Regions from separate parts of the Homo sapiens genome. Here all the other regions are linked to region 2. The links are contacts of gene promoters, found by promoter capture Hi-C in blood cells and fetal thymus (Javierre and others, 2016). All regions are on one chromosome and are shown on one strand. The core of a region is centred on a gene start or on the middle of the fragment in contact, and the rest is flanking DNA. Distances in the headings are between cores, read along the strand shown.

Evidence for each region. Contacts are between HindIII fragments. The CHiCAGO score rates a contact against its expected background, and 5 or more counts as called.
Region 1: a contact is called between a fragment that was not itself captured here and the fragment with the promoter of OSGIN1 in region 2, in 1 of 17 cell types (total B cells). The highest score is 5.0, in total B cells.
Region 3: a contact is called between a fragment that was not itself captured here and the fragment with the promoter of OSGIN1 in region 2, in 2 of 17 cell types (naive B cells and erythroblasts). The highest score is 5.4, in naive B cells.
Region 4: a fragment that was not itself captured here is called in contact with the fragment with the promoter of OSGIN1 in region 2 in 3 of 17 cell types (naive CD8 T cells, megakaryocytes and erythroblasts); the score reaches 7.9 in naive CD8 T cells.

Annotation. Positions count from the first base shown.
Region 1 is chr16:84,731,587-84,735,141 of GRCh38, reverse strand. USP10 (ubiquitin specific peptidase 10) reads right to left here. Exons shown (of 14, transcript NM_005153.3): 2 at 1,639-1,707. Among named protein-coding and RNA genes, the nearest start is that of USP10, 33 kb to the right of the region's middle. The HindIII fragment of the contact is 1,351 bases long and covers 589-1,939 here.
Region 2 is chr16:83,951,180-83,954,725 of GRCh38, reverse strand. OSGIN1 (oxidative stress induced growth inhibitor 1) reads right to left here and starts at 1,486. Exons shown (of 6, transcript NM_182981.3): 1 at 1,356-1,486. RefSeq lists an enhancer at 1-673 and a silencer at 1,162-1,211. The HindIII fragment of the contact is 5,629 bases long and covers 40-3,546 here.
Region 3 is chr16:84,515,414-84,518,992 of GRCh38, reverse strand. LOC124903735 (a long non-coding RNA gene) reads right to left here. Exons shown (of 2, transcript XR_007065148.1): 2 at 663-826. Among named protein-coding and RNA genes, the nearest start is that of MEAK7, 13 kb to the right of the region's middle. RefSeq lists an enhancer at 3,536-3,579. The HindIII fragment of the contact is 160 bases long and covers 1,239-1,398 here.
Region 4 is chr16:84,463,995-84,467,579 of GRCh38, reverse strand. It overlaps ATP2C2 (ATPase secretory pathway Ca2+ transporting 2), which reads right to left. Exons shown (of 27, transcript NM_014861.4): 27 at 3,393-3,585. It overlaps ATP2C2-AS1 (ATP2C2 antisense RNA 1), which reads left to right and starts at 219. Exons shown (of 3, transcript NR_146503.1): 1 at 219-276. The HindIII fragment of the contact is 1,340 bases long and covers 1,581-2,920 here.

The DNA.
Region 1 (3,555 bases), core at 15-2,514, 780 kb before region 2:
GAGAACCCCCCTGAGGCGGGGCGGGGGGTCAAAGTTGCAGTGAATTGTGATTGCACTCTGCACTCCAGCCTGGGCAGAGTGAGACCCTGTCTCGAAAAAAAGAAAAGAAAAGAAAAAATAGAAATAAAAAAATAAAATAAAACGTGTGGTGTTTATACAGAGATAAGCAATAGGCCCACAGAATAGCACACTCGGAACCAGGGGAGATGCACTGCCCAACGGGGCTGACAGGACAGCTAAGGGCCGAGTTCCCAATGAATGGTGAGGAGGCACCTGCCAGGGCCACAGGGGCAGGGAGTTCGATGCCACCTCACACATATACAAAATTCAGTGCCTCAATTTCAGCTTATTACACACTGAAGCGTGAAAACAAAATCTGAAAACTTTTAGAAGAAAACAGACAAATATCTTCGTTATCTAAAGGATGGGAAGAATTTCCTAAAGATATTTTTAAAACTAAAAATCCACAAACTATAAGGAAAAAAAAATCAATTCAGTTGACATTAAAGTTGAAAGTGTACTCCTCTTATCCAACAACAACAACAAAAAAACCCAACCCCAAAAAGGGTTCACCTAACATGTGAAGCTTAAAGCCCTCATGCTAGGAACAGATGCCTGTAAAACCAAAGATTAATCCTAAAATCAGTAAGAAAAAGACAAGCTACTTGATTTAAAAATATGGACAAGGGATATAAACCAAGTAATTCACAGCAGAGGACATCCGTATTGCCAGCAGACGTGAAGAGAATGAAATAGTACCCAGCTGTTTGTAATCTGGGAGATGTAAATTAAAACAATGAGAGTCCATTTACTACACACATCAGATTCACAAAATTTTAAATATGCCAACACCAAGAGTTAGCAAGATTTTTTTTTTAATACGAGCAAGAAAACTCCCATGCACTGCTGATGGGAATGAAGACTGTTAAAATCCTAGATAGCAAACGAGCAGTCTCTAGTGAAACTAAAGAGGCTCGGTCCACAGAACCCAGTAATTCCATTCCCAGGTCTGTGTCCCGGAGGAGCCCACAGAGGGGCACCAGGAGACATGATAAAATACATTGAGTGCAATATTTTTAACGGCTGAACTAGAGACCTAAATGGCCCTCGACAGGAAAATATGTAAGTAAATTGCAGTGTGTTCAATCAGTGGTACTGAGCACTGGAAATCAAAGAACAAGGACAAATTTCTTAGCATAAAGAATACAACGTTAGCTTAAAATAAACGACAAACTGAATATAGTATACCATTTACGTGACACTTTAAAGCACATAAAACACTACGATTGACTATGGTGATATACACGTATATGATAAAAGGTGAAAACCAGTCAGGACCAATATTTCCCAATTTCAGCAGAGTAGTTACTTCTGGGGAGAGATGGGAGAGAGGTCCAAAGGAGGCTTCAGTTGCATCTGTAATGTTTTATTTGCTTTTCAAAGCCTAATAAAGTAAATACAGCAAAATGTCAAATCAAATGTCAGTCAAATCTAGTTGGTGGGTTGAGGCATTTCTCATATTAGTCTCCATACTTTTCTCTACATTGGAATTCTTTATTTAAAAAAACAAATTAAAATAGAAACATAACTATTAATTGTATCTACCCACGGACTCACTAAAACAAAGTTTTGTCTTACCTCAACTGAAGATCGAGGAGTCACAAAGAATTGATTGAATTCATCAGGGCTAAAATCTCCAAAAATATACTGAAAAAAAATAAGAGAGTCACTGATCACATAAAATATACAAATTATATACTTTCAGAAAAAATGCTACATATTTTAACAATCCTATGCAACATTTGGGCCATAACCCCCAAGATCCTTTCTCAATTAAACAGAGGATCTGCAACTCAGAGTTCTAGGTTGTTTATATAAAAGAAATACTACTGAACCTTTCCTACAAATTGTCAAAGAACACTATGAAACTGATAAAGCTTATTTTGAAACAAATCAATTTTGTATGCCAAACTTGTCGAGTCCTGCTTGCAGGAGATTTTTATTGGTTCACAAATACTGCCAGTTGTTCCATTTACCTTTCTGCTGACTCATGCCACTACCTCCATTTCCGCTTTCTCTGCCAAACATACTAAAGAAAAGCAGAAAACGTGGTTCAAATGGGAAGACAAGGAAATCCAAAAAAGGAAAATGTTAATGATCCTGATTAATGATCTTTAAAAATATCTATATAACTTCTTAGTTTAAAAATGCATTTCCATAGGATACACAGATACACATATTATCAGACAGACACAGCCCTTGTTGCAAGCCTGATTTCACGGAATTCAGAATGTGATTTTCTGGAAAACGAAGTGGTTAAACTGCACGGATGTGAGTCTGGCAAGTGCCTACCAGTTCATATTCTCCATGGAGCTTCAAGAAACAAGTCATTGAGGCCTGGCGCAGTAGCTCACGCCTATAATCCCAGCACTCTGGGAGGCTGACATGGGCGAATCACTTAAGGTCAGGAATTCGAGACCAGCCTGGCCAACATGGTGAAACCCCCATCTTTACTAAAAATACAAAAATTAGCCAGGCGTGGTGGCGTGTACCTGTAGTCCCGGCTGCTCGGGAGGCTGAGCCAGGAGAATTGCTTGAACCAGGGAGGCCGAGGTTGCAGTGAGCTGAGATCGCGCCACCGCACCCCAGCCGGGGCGACAGAGCCAGACTCCATCTCAAAAAGAAAAAAAAAAAAAAGAAGAAGAAGAAGTCATTGAGAAGAATTAGCAATTTCCACAACGGAGAAGCAATGATTCATTCATTTAATCAATAATTATTTAGAACCTACAAATGCCCACGTATGATCAGTACTGGGTATAAAAATGGTAAGCAGAGTGTGGTTCCTCTGTTCTAATGGAACTAAACAGTCTAGTAGCTTCCAGGGAAATTTACAAGCCAAGTGATTCAAAAATAACCAGTAACTAAATATTACATAAATGAATAATACTCATTATTATTGTAAATGTGAATAAATGGCCACTAAATGTAATACCCTCCTGGTAAGAATGCACAGGGAAAACGTTTCTGGAGAGCTCTTTGACAACATCTACCAAAACTATAAATATACATTAAGAACAAAAAAGTTTTCATATAATATTTACATATACTTGCAAAAGTCAACAAAGAAATTATGTATTGACAGTAACAGTGAAAATAAACAGAGCCTCAAAATGGTTCAGAAATGATCTTCTGAAATACTGTCACTTTTCAGTGAAGAATATAGAAGGTTACACCTTCTTCTCATCACCAACACTGGGAAAAGATGATATGAATTTCACTAAGAAACCCTCAAAGCAATGGAAGGGAAAATTCTATAGGCTAAAAGGAAGCAGAAAAAATTAGCACAGACTATCACAAAAAAAAAAGAGCTATCAGAGATCATGAAAGTGTTCGCGGAAATTAATTACTAATTTTAAATCACTAAATTAAAAAACTCAACAGAACGTCTTAATAGCAAAATCAACAAGGCTATGGAAGGCAATGGGGCAACATTTTGAAAGTTTCGAGAAAAAAGGATTTTGTTCCTAGAATGCCAGAGTATTTTTTCATAGAATT
Region 2 (3,546 bases), core at 237-2,736:
TCCCTCCTGGGACTGTCCTCAGGCTCTTGAACAGAAGCTTCTGGATGCCACATACATGAGGTCACCACCCAGGGGCTGGACCTGAGAAGTCACTTCCCGTTCAGAGTGACACAGGACGCCCCAAAGTCCGAAGCAGCTTGACGCTGTCACTCATAACCTCGGACAAATATGCTGCCAACTTACAAAAGAGAGTTCAAAAGTTTCATTTCAATTCCTTTTGTGCTTTTTAGTTTTACGGAGTTGGAAGAATCAATTTTTAATGTTATCTTTTTAAGTCCCTTTAATTGAAGATGGCAGATGTTGATGGAAAGAAGTTAACATTAAAAATTGATGTTTCAAATTTCACAAAGGCAAACAGGATAAAAGAAATGAAAACAGTTGCACCTTCGACTGACGTTTCTTTCAAGTGTGCGGCATTTGTACTTCTGAGGTTGTTAAAGCTGCAAACTGCTCTGAGACTCTGGGACACCTGTATGTCTGCGTTTCTTTGGCACCTCTAGTGGCCATTTACTCCTTTGCCTTTGAAGACACCCCAGGAGGTGGGTGTTCTTATCCCCATTGTGCAGAGGAAGAAAAGCTGGTCAGGAGGAGTGGGCGTCTTGCCCCAGGTCACCTAGGAGGGTCCAAGACCACGGCCATGTGACAAATCTTAGTTCTGCCAAGTCCCCTCCAGTAAAACAGCTGATTACAGGGAGACCAAGAAAGTGACACGAAGCCCTGGGGGCGCTAAAGTGTGAGGGGGTGGTCTGTCCACGCAAGCGGCACTTGCCATTTATCACAGACGAGCCCTCGCCCCAGTGCCGCACACCTGGAGCCCAGGGTCTCCTGCAGCTCCCCAGCCTCCCAGGGGCCGCCCTCCCAACCCGCCGCACTCTTGAGCCTCCTGAGAGAAGCTAAGTCGCTGGGACCTCCAGGGATGGGGGCTGTTCATGGGCACCCAAGGGCTCTGTCCCTCCTGAGCAGGAGAAGCAGAAACCCAGAAGGCACCCAGCCTGGCTGCCGACCCAGTGGCCTTGGAACAGCTGGGCAGTAAGCCCGGGCTGGCCACACCCCTCTTTCCTGCTAGGAGCGGCGGTCACATGGCCCAGGGTACGCTGGGACTGTGGCCGCTTCAGCTGCTTGGCTGAGGGTACCAGGCACCTGGACAGGGACACAGCTGAGGATCTGGGAGGAACCTGGTGTAGGGGAGAATCCTGCCGGGCTCCAGAGAACCCAGGCGAGGGCCTCCACTCAGGACCACCCGGGACCCCCGCCTGGCGCCAGGGCTCTGCAGACCCTCCGGTCCAGCTGGGCTTGCCACGGGTGCCTGGGATGTGCCTGATTCCCTGCCCCGGAACCTGGCCCCGGACACTCACCTGACAGGCAGTGGTGCAGGAGCCCAGTGAGCCCGGCCAAGTTGTGCACTAGGAGGGTCAGGGGAACACGGATCACAGAGTCCCCCGCGAGATCGGGACACCCATTACCCTGTGGGGATCCAAGAGGCTCTGAGAGGCCAGAGGGAAGTGAGGGTATTTCACGGGGAGGGAGGAGGCGGCGCAGGCAGTGGGCGGGGCCAGGAAAATCACTTTCATAAGCGTGAGTCAGCAGGGGCCCGTGATGAATGAACTTGCACACTGGGCGGGTGTCACGCTGCCTGCCTCATGGCCAGCCTTAAAGGGCCCCTGCTGGGCGGCCTGCCAGGGGGCCTAGGGTGGCGCTCCCTCCCAGCCACCTCCCCCTAGCCAGACCCCCATCCCTGGGGCTCAGTCTCTGGAGGAGGAACCAGTGACCTCTGAATGAGCCAGCCTGGCCTTTGCCATAAGCGAAGAGGAGATGGCTTTGTCCCGCACACAGTTAAAATAACAGTACCTTTAAGTGGCGAAACCCCGTCCAGTTCCCGCATTCCACCTGGATTTCACTGCACCCTCCAATCCCCAAAAGCCCTCTGGCACCAGCCTGCCTGGGCTGCGAATCCAGCTTTGCCATTTCCCAGCTGCAGGGCTCTGGCAAGCTGCCTTAGGGCCCGCACCTCAGTTTCCTCATCTGAAAACTGGGGCCAAGTCACAGATTGTCTCTACCAGAGTGGCCGTGAGGGTTTACATGACATCCTTCTTGTCTGCCATGCTTAGAACTTGAAGCCTGCTCCCAGGCTCTTCTCTCCTGTTTTATGTGGGTAGCACTGCACACCCCACACCTTGCTGTTTCTTAATTATTATTATTTTGAGAAGGAGTTTCGCTCTTGTTTCCCAGGCTGGGGTGCAATGGCGCGATCTCGGTTCACTGCAACCTACGCCTCCCGGGCTCAAGTGATTCCCCTGCCTCAGCCTCCTGAGTAGCTGAGATTACAGGCATGTGCCACCACGCCCGGCTAATTTTGTATTTTTGGTAGAGATAGGGTTTCACCATGTTGGCAAGGCTGGTCTCGAACTCCCGACCTCAGATGATCCGCCCGCCTCAGCCTTCCAAAGTGCTGGGATTACAGGCGTGAGATGCCACACCTGGCCTATTTCTGAATTATTTTATTGTCTCTCTTCCCAAACCAGAATGTGAGCTCTGTGTGGGCAGGGAAGTATATTCGTGACTGCTCTACACAGTGTCTAGAACAGCGCTTAGGACACATAGGCACTCAACATCGGTTAAACAGAAGGGAGGCAGGGAGGGAGGGAAGCAGGGGGGGAAGGAGGGAGGAAGGCAGGGAGGGAGGGAAGTAGGGAGGGAAGGAGGGAGGAAAGCAGGGAGGGAAGGAGGGAGGGAAGGAAGGAGGTAGGGAGGGAAGCAGGGGGGGAAGGAGGGAGGAAGGCAGGGAGGGAGGGAAGTAGGGAGGGAAGGAGGGAGGAAAGCAGGGAGAGAAGGAGGAAGGAGGAAGGGAAGAGGGAGGGAAAGAGGGAGGAAGGGAAAGAGGGAGGAAGGCAGGGAGGGAGGGAAGGAGGGATGGAAGGAGGGAGGAAGGCAGGAAGGGAAGGAGGGAGGGAGGGAAGGAGGGTGGAAGGCAGGGAGGGAGGGAGGGAGCTGCCGCGGTGCACACATGACCTCAGTGTCCATTCGCTGTTGTTTTCAGTGTTGATGTTGTTGTCGCCCGCCCTCGTCCTCCTGTCTGCCACCCTCGAGGGGCGGGGGATGGGGGTGCACCTTTGAGTGCAAACTTTAAGAGGGAACCAAAACCAGTAAACAAAATAATATTTTGAGGCAATTAAAAAAAATCTAAATGAATGCAAAAAAGCCAGGATAAACCCAGACAGGTTCCAGAGCAGTGCCTTGGGGCTGATGGGAAGAGGAGAACCAGGACTTCCGATGCCGTCTGTGTTTATAATAAAAGTTTGATATTTTTTCCATTCTGGATTTTTTTTCATGAATTTTGATGTGTAAGAACACTGCATGGACACAGTATGTATTCTGGTGATGGGAGTGCTTTGCTGCCCCTAAAATTTTGTGCCTGAGGTGATGCCTCCCCCTCCTCACCCTCGTCCTGGCCCTGGTGGCCACAGCCCTGCCCTGGAGTCAGGCACATCCTGGAAGCCACAGCCCAGGGTACCGGAGCATCTGCCAGCAGGGGCTGGGGCTGGGGCT
Region 3 (3,579 bases), core at 69-2,568, 560 kb before region 2:
TCCTAGGTCTGCTGTACCACAAACTGCGGGCAGGGGGTTAAAATCACCAGAAATCGACTTCCTCACAGCTCTGGATGCCACAAACCCAAAGTCAAGGTGTCAGCAGGGCTGGTGCATCTCGAGGCCTGTGGACGCTGTCTTCCTGTGTGACTCTTCACAATACCTTCCCTCCGTGCATGGCTGTCTCTGTCCAATGAAAAAGAAAAAAAGGCCATGCATGGTGGCTCCTGCCTATAATCCTAGCACTTTAGGAGGCCAGGGCGGGTGGATCACCTGAGGTCAGGAGTTCAAGACCAGCCTGGCCAACATGGCAAAACCCCAGCTCTATTAAAAATATACAAAAAAAAAAAAAAAAAAATTAGCCAGGCGTGGTGGTGTATGCCTGTAATCCCAGCTACTCAGGAGGCTAAGGCAGGAGAATCGCTTGAATCTGGGAGGCAGAGGCTGCAGTGAACCGAGATCTCACCACTGCACTCCAGCCTGGGCAACAGAGTGAGACTCCACCTCAAAAAAAAAAAAAAAAAATACCAGTCACACTAGATCATAGGCCCAGTACCCTGCTGTGACCTCATCTTAACTAATTCCATCTGCAATGACTCTATTTTCAAATAAGTCACATAGTCATATCCTGGGGCACTGGGAGAAAGACTTTAACACATGAATTTTGTGGAGGGATAGAATTTAATCCAATGAGACTGAATATAAGGTTTGCTTCTGGGCTGGGCGGAGCAGCTCACACCTATAATCCCAGCACTTTGGGAGGCTGAGGTGGGTGGATCACTTGAGTCCAGGAGTTCCAGACCAGCCTGGGCAACTTGGCAAGACCCTGGAAAATAAAATAAAAATCAGCCAGGTGTAGTGGCATGTGCCTGTAGTCCCAGCTACTCGAGAGGCTGACGCGGGAGGATCACTTGAGCCCAGGAAGTGGAGGCTGCAGTGAGCTATGATTGCACCACTGCACTCCAGCCTCAATGACAGCGAGACCCTGTCTCCAAAAAAATAGTTTGTTCCTCCAACCATCATGAGTACATGAAGTACTCAGACCTTGTGAAGGTGCGGATTCTGATTCAGGAGGTCTGGGGTAAAGCCGGGAGACTCTGCATTACCAACCAGAGTCCAGCAATTGACGCTCAGGTTCTATGACAAAATGATTGTTAATGTTGTTAGATGCATTGACAGTTCTGTGGTTAGTACAACGGCATCATTTTTTAAAAAATGCGTCAAATATGTTGAAAGCTTAAATGTCAGAATTGACCCACTTCGAACATTCCAACGAACAGTAGGAAAGGGCAGAATGTTAGCAATGGCTGAGTCTGGGTGGTGGGTATAAAGAGGGCTTGTTTTTTTAGTCTGGTTTTCCGCATATTAGACGTTTTTCATAATCTCTTTGGAAAAGCTTTCCAGCGCCTGGGGCTGAGTATCTCTGGGACGGGCCCTGGGGGATGGGTCTCGTGGGGCCTGGTATCAGTTCCCAGCTGGCGGTCGAGTTCTCTAGGGGAACAGGGCCTGCATGTAGCAGTATTTTTATTATTTTCAACCGCAGTCGCTTCTTCCTGTTGCCTTCTGGGTACTGGGAGGCACCCGGGAAGAGCTGGGATTCTGGGGTCCCCCAGTATGGTTTACCTGCTCTGGGGCAACAGGGACAATTTGGGTTTCTAAGCAACATTCTGGCTGGGTGCCGTGGCTCATGCCTGTAATCCCAGCACTTTGGGAGGCCGAGGTGGGCAGATCACCTGAGGTCAGGAGTTCGAGACCAGCCTGGCCAACATGATGAAACCCCATCTCTACTAAAAATACAAAAATTAGGTGGGTGCGGTGGTGGACCCTGGTCATCCCAGCTACTTGGGAGGCTGAGGCAGGAGAATTGCTTGAACCTGGGAGGTGGAGGTTGCAGTGAGCCGAGATCGCGCCATTGCACTCCAGCCTGGGCGACAGAGTAAGACTCCATCTCAAAAAAAAAAAAAAAAAAAATTCTTTGTTTCTGCTGTTTATTTGCTGACAGTGCATGCGTTTCTTTTCCTTACTGTGTGTGGGGGAGTCTGTGCCATGTTCTTAAGTCCTCTCCCTTGCTGTTTTTATTTAACCCCTTCTGGGTCCCAACTCTACCTGGCGGTGCTTGTGGACTGACCCTTCTCACTACTAGCCCGTGTGTGAGCCTTTACAGGGCATCTCCTCTCCCTCTGGAGGACATGGTCTCTCTCGCTGCCTCCTGTGTCCCCTGCCTTTACGTGATGCCCAGCACATAGGCACTCAAGTGTGCCGAACAGTGACTCTTACAGGTCTGGTCTACTCCCACGGAGCCTAGCTCAGGGAGGTTAATTAACCCATCCAAAGCAACCGAGCTGTGGTCTGAACTTCGGAGCCGGTGCTGTCCAACATCCAAATACAGACAATGGAGGTAGAACACAAGCCCTGTGTGCGATTCTAAGGTTTTCATTGTTCATGTTTTAAAACGAGAAATGGTAACATTAATATGCTTTGAACCTAATATAGCCAAAATACTATTTCTACATGGAATTTCTATTTCACAATTATTTTGGGGCAACATGGAAGAGATCATCGTGGTGATGGAACACTTCTGTATCTTCAGCATAGATGGAATAGTTGTGTTTTGTAGTGATGGTCACACGACTCTACTACCCTCGTGGGGAAATGACAGAATTGGACACACACATTGATTGCATCAATGTCTCTTTCCCAGTTTGGATTAGGTGAGTTAGAACCACAGGGAAACTTGGTGCAGGGTATATTGGACCTCTGTGCACTGTCTTTGCAACTTTCTGTTGAATCTATAATTATTTCTAAATAGTAGTTTATTTTTTTGAGATGGAGTCTTACTCTGTTGCCCAGGCTAGAGTGCAGTGGTGCAGTCTCGGCTCACTGCAACCTCAACCTCTTGGGCTCAAGCGATTCTCCTGCCTCAGCCTCCAGAGTAGCTGGGACCACAGATGCCCACCACCACTCTTGGCTAATTTTTGTATTTTTAGTAGAGACAGGATTTCGCCATGTTGGCCAGGCTGGTCTCGAACTCCTGACCTTGGGTGATCTGCCTGCGTTGGCCTCCCAAAGTGCTGGGATTATAGGCTTGAGCCACTGCTCCTGGCCATAAAATAGTAGTTTAAAATGTGAGATTTTAAAATTTAAAAAAATCAACCAAGTCTTTGAACACTGCTGCGTCTTTCACGCTTATAGCACATCTAGGTTTGGACCCGAGACATTCAAGCAGCGGGTGTGGCCCGAGGCCACAGTGTCAGACAGCCATGTCCCTTGCTCCCTGCCCCAGCACAGCCTTCTTGAGCTGGGATTGCAGGAGGCCTGCACTGTCTCTGCCATGGACCGGTTGCCTGGTAGAGAAGCTACTGTCCTGCTTGGAGCCTCAGTTTGTGTATCTGTTAAGTGCGAAGAATGACAGTGCCTATCCCAGAGTGCTGGCTGCCAGGGTTAAGTGGGATGCTGCGTGTTCGGCACTTAGCATGGGCCTGGCCCATGGGCGGGTGATTGTGAGCCTGGACCACATCTACCTGTATTAATCATGTTTACAATCCCAAACGGCAGCTTCATCTGGTTGTACCTAGTGTT
Region 4 (3,585 bases), core at 1,001-3,500, 510 kb before region 2:
GATTGGCTAGAAAGACTCAGGACTCAGAAACTGTTGAGCTCAGAGGGAGAGGGTGACCAGTCTCTGCAGTTGCAGCCCTGGGGCTGTTCTAATCTGTATCTTTTCCTGGTAATAGACATGGCTGTGAGCATGACAGGTGTCAGTGAGCTCTGTGTGCCTCATCAACGAATCATCCAACCTGAAGGTGGTTGTGGGAAACTCTTGGACCTGCAGTCAGTATCAGAAGGCCTGGGCAGACTTGGCCAGCCACCTGGAGCACTGTGCCCTTAAACTCAGGTTTGCCTAACATCAGATACTATGTAAAAACCAGTGAAATTGAAATAGGTCTGCTGATAACAATATCATACCAAGCTTGTTAGAACAAGTTTATCTGTGTCTTAAAAAAAAACAAAAACAAAAAAACCCTGGGATTTTGATGGTAATTGTGTTAAACCTAATACAACAATCTCGGGAGAATTGATACTTTTTTTTGAGACAGACAAATAGTATTCAATTTTAAATTTCAGTTTCCAGTTGTTCATTGCTAATATATAGAAATACGACTGCTTTTTGTGTGTTAACCTTGTATCTTGTGGCTTTACTAAACTCGTTGATTCTACGAGGGTTTTTCTTTTTTAAAAAGATTTGTTGGGATTTTCTGTGTGGACAATTACGTTATCTGTGATTTTCTCCTTTCCAGGCTCTTTGCTAATGCCTTTTAACTTTTCTTGCCATATTACACTGGCTAGGACTTCTAATACTGTGCTGAATAGGAGTGGTGAGGCTGGTCACCCTTGGACCTTATCCTGTGGGGAAAGAATTCAGTTTTTCATCATTAAGTATGATGTTAGCTATAGGTTTTTTGTAGATGTTCTTTATCAGGTTGAAGAAGTTTCCTTCAATTCCTAGTTTGAGAGTTTTTATTACAAATGGAGATTGAATTTTATCAAATGCCTTTTCTGCATTAATTGATATAACCATGTGTTTTTCCTTCTTCAGACTATTAATATAGTGAGTTATATTGGTTTTTGAATGTTGAACTTTTCAGTTATATTGGTTTTGAATGTTGAACTTTGGAATGCTTGAATTCCATTCCTCAATTAACCCCACTTCGTCCTGGTGTCTTATATTCTTCGTACCTGGCTAGATCTGATTTCCTCATATTTTGTTGAGGATTTTCGTGCATATATTCATAAGGGATGTTGGTCTCTAGTATTTTTCTCTAGTTTTGGTATCAGAGTGATTGTTGACCTTATAAAATGAGAAGTGCTCGGTCCCCTTTTATTTTTGGAATTCAGTGTATCGAATTGCCATTTCTTTACAAGTTTAGTAAAATTCACCAGTGAAATCATCTGGCTTCAGAAACTGCCTTTTTTGGAAGGGTTTCAACTTCAGCTTATCTATTTAATCTTCAGTGAGTTTTGGTAGTTTTTGGTTTTCAAGCAATTGGTTTATTTCATCCAATTGATTGAATTTAGGTACATAAAGATGTACATAGTATTATTTATTATTATTGTTGGAATATCTTGAAGGGTTTGTGGTGATATACTTTTTCATTCCTGACATTGGTCATTTCTCTTCCCTTTTTTCTTTGATAAGCTTATTGCAAGACTGATAGTTTTATTGATCTCTTCGAAAAACTAGGTTTTGATTGATTTTCCTCTATTTTTGCTTTTTCGTTTGATTTCTGCTCTTTATTTTGGTGACTGTTTCTATGCTACTCGTGAATGGGGTGTTCTACAAGTGTAAATCAAGCTAAGTTGCTTAATGGTGGTGTTCAAGTCTACTGTGTCCTTAATGAAAAGAAGGTCTTAGTTTTAATGTAGTCTAATTTATATTTTATTGTTAGCATTTTGTGTCTTACTACAGTTTTATCCCTAAAGTTTACATAAGCAAGAGTTCAGAGTAATCGACCCTGGTATTTTGATTACTTAATTTTAAATGGGAAGTAAATGTCTCGGGCCAGCAGTGTGCCCAAGGATCCTGAAAAGTAGAGCAAGAATTGTCCCTGACTCAGGGGGAGGCACTCCTTAGCAGACTGTGGAAGTGGCACACTTCAGCCTTGACCTCTTAGTGGTTCCAGGGGTTGGCAGCTTCTAGGAAGACAGCCCCACAGCTCAAAAGGTTTCTTCTCCAGCCAGCCCTGTGTCTGTGTCTCACTAGGAATGGCCCATCGCTGCATCTCCTCCTGTGGCCCTGGTGTCACAGGTTGTAGCCAGAGAGGGGCTTCTTCCCAGGCTGTGAATCCTACTATGGAGGACTTTGGACTCTGCCTGGAACCCTGGCAGGGGTCCACTCTGACCTTCCTTATCTTCGTCTGACCCAGCTGTTACCACCCCTGGTAGCCCTTTTCATAGCTACCGTGGCTGGGTGCAACGGGTACTTTTATCTGACAACTTGGCCAGGCCAAGTTGATTTTCGTCAAACAAACACTGGTCTAGATGGCGCTGTGTAACTAACATGTAAGCCCGTAGACTTGAAGTAAAACAAACAGTTTATCCTTCATAACGTGAGTGGGCCTCATCCGATCAGTTGAGGACTATAAGAGGAAAAGGCTGAACTCCCTTGAGGAGGAGGAAATTCTGCCTCCAGCCTGCATCCCCAGCTCTTCCCTGGGTCTCCAGGATGCTGGCCTGCCCTCAAGATGTTAGACTTGCCAGCCCCCAACATCCTATGAGCCAGTTCCTTAAAACAAATCTCTGCATCTCCCTCCATCCTGTTGGTTCTGTTTCTCTAGTGAGGCCTGACTAGTAAATGGGGGGTTCTAGCTCTGGCCTTATTTCCTGAGAGATGGGGACGGAGTTCCCCTTCTGGTTCCCTTTGGTGGTTCTGGCGTGGCTTCAGGCAGAAGAACAGCATGGAGACCTCTCTCCTCTGCCATCTGTCACGTGGAAGAGCAGATCGGTTTTTGGAAGTCTTTGGGGCAGTGGGAAATCAAGCTTGTCTGCAGGCAGCAGGAGATACTACAGTTCCTGGTTCCGGAGAGAAGGGCCACTTTCTGAGAGAGACTCTTGCTTTGTTGCCCATGCTGCAGTGCAGTGGTACAATCTCCACCTCCTGGACTCAAGCCATTCTCCTGCCTCAGCCTCCCGAGTAGCTGGGATTAACAGGTGTGCATCATCACGCCTGGCAACTGTTTTTTTTTTTTTTTTTAAACTTTTAGTAGAGACAGACAGGGTTTTGCTGTGTTGGCCAGGCTGGCCTCAAGTGATCTGCCTGCCTTGGCCTTGCAAAGTGCTGGGATTACAGGCGTGAGCCACCATGCCCAGCCCTACTCTTTATGTCCAAAAGCCGAGGCCTTCCTGTAGGCCATTCATGATGGATTGCTGCTCACCCCACGTGGCCATTAACACATGGCTGTGGGTTTCCAACCTGGCCCCTTGTATGAAAAACCCTAGGTAAACACATCAAAATAATTATCCCCCGGCATAGCACTTTATTTAAAAGTCCCTCATTTTATGATGAGGAAATGGGGCCTCCAGGAGGGCAATGGGCAGAGTGTGACCATCCTACCCACTGCCTCTCAGGAGCCCCTTGTATCTGCCACGAGTGGCCTGCCTCACTGCAAGCTGTGGCACAGATACGTAGTTAGACATGGTTAATAAA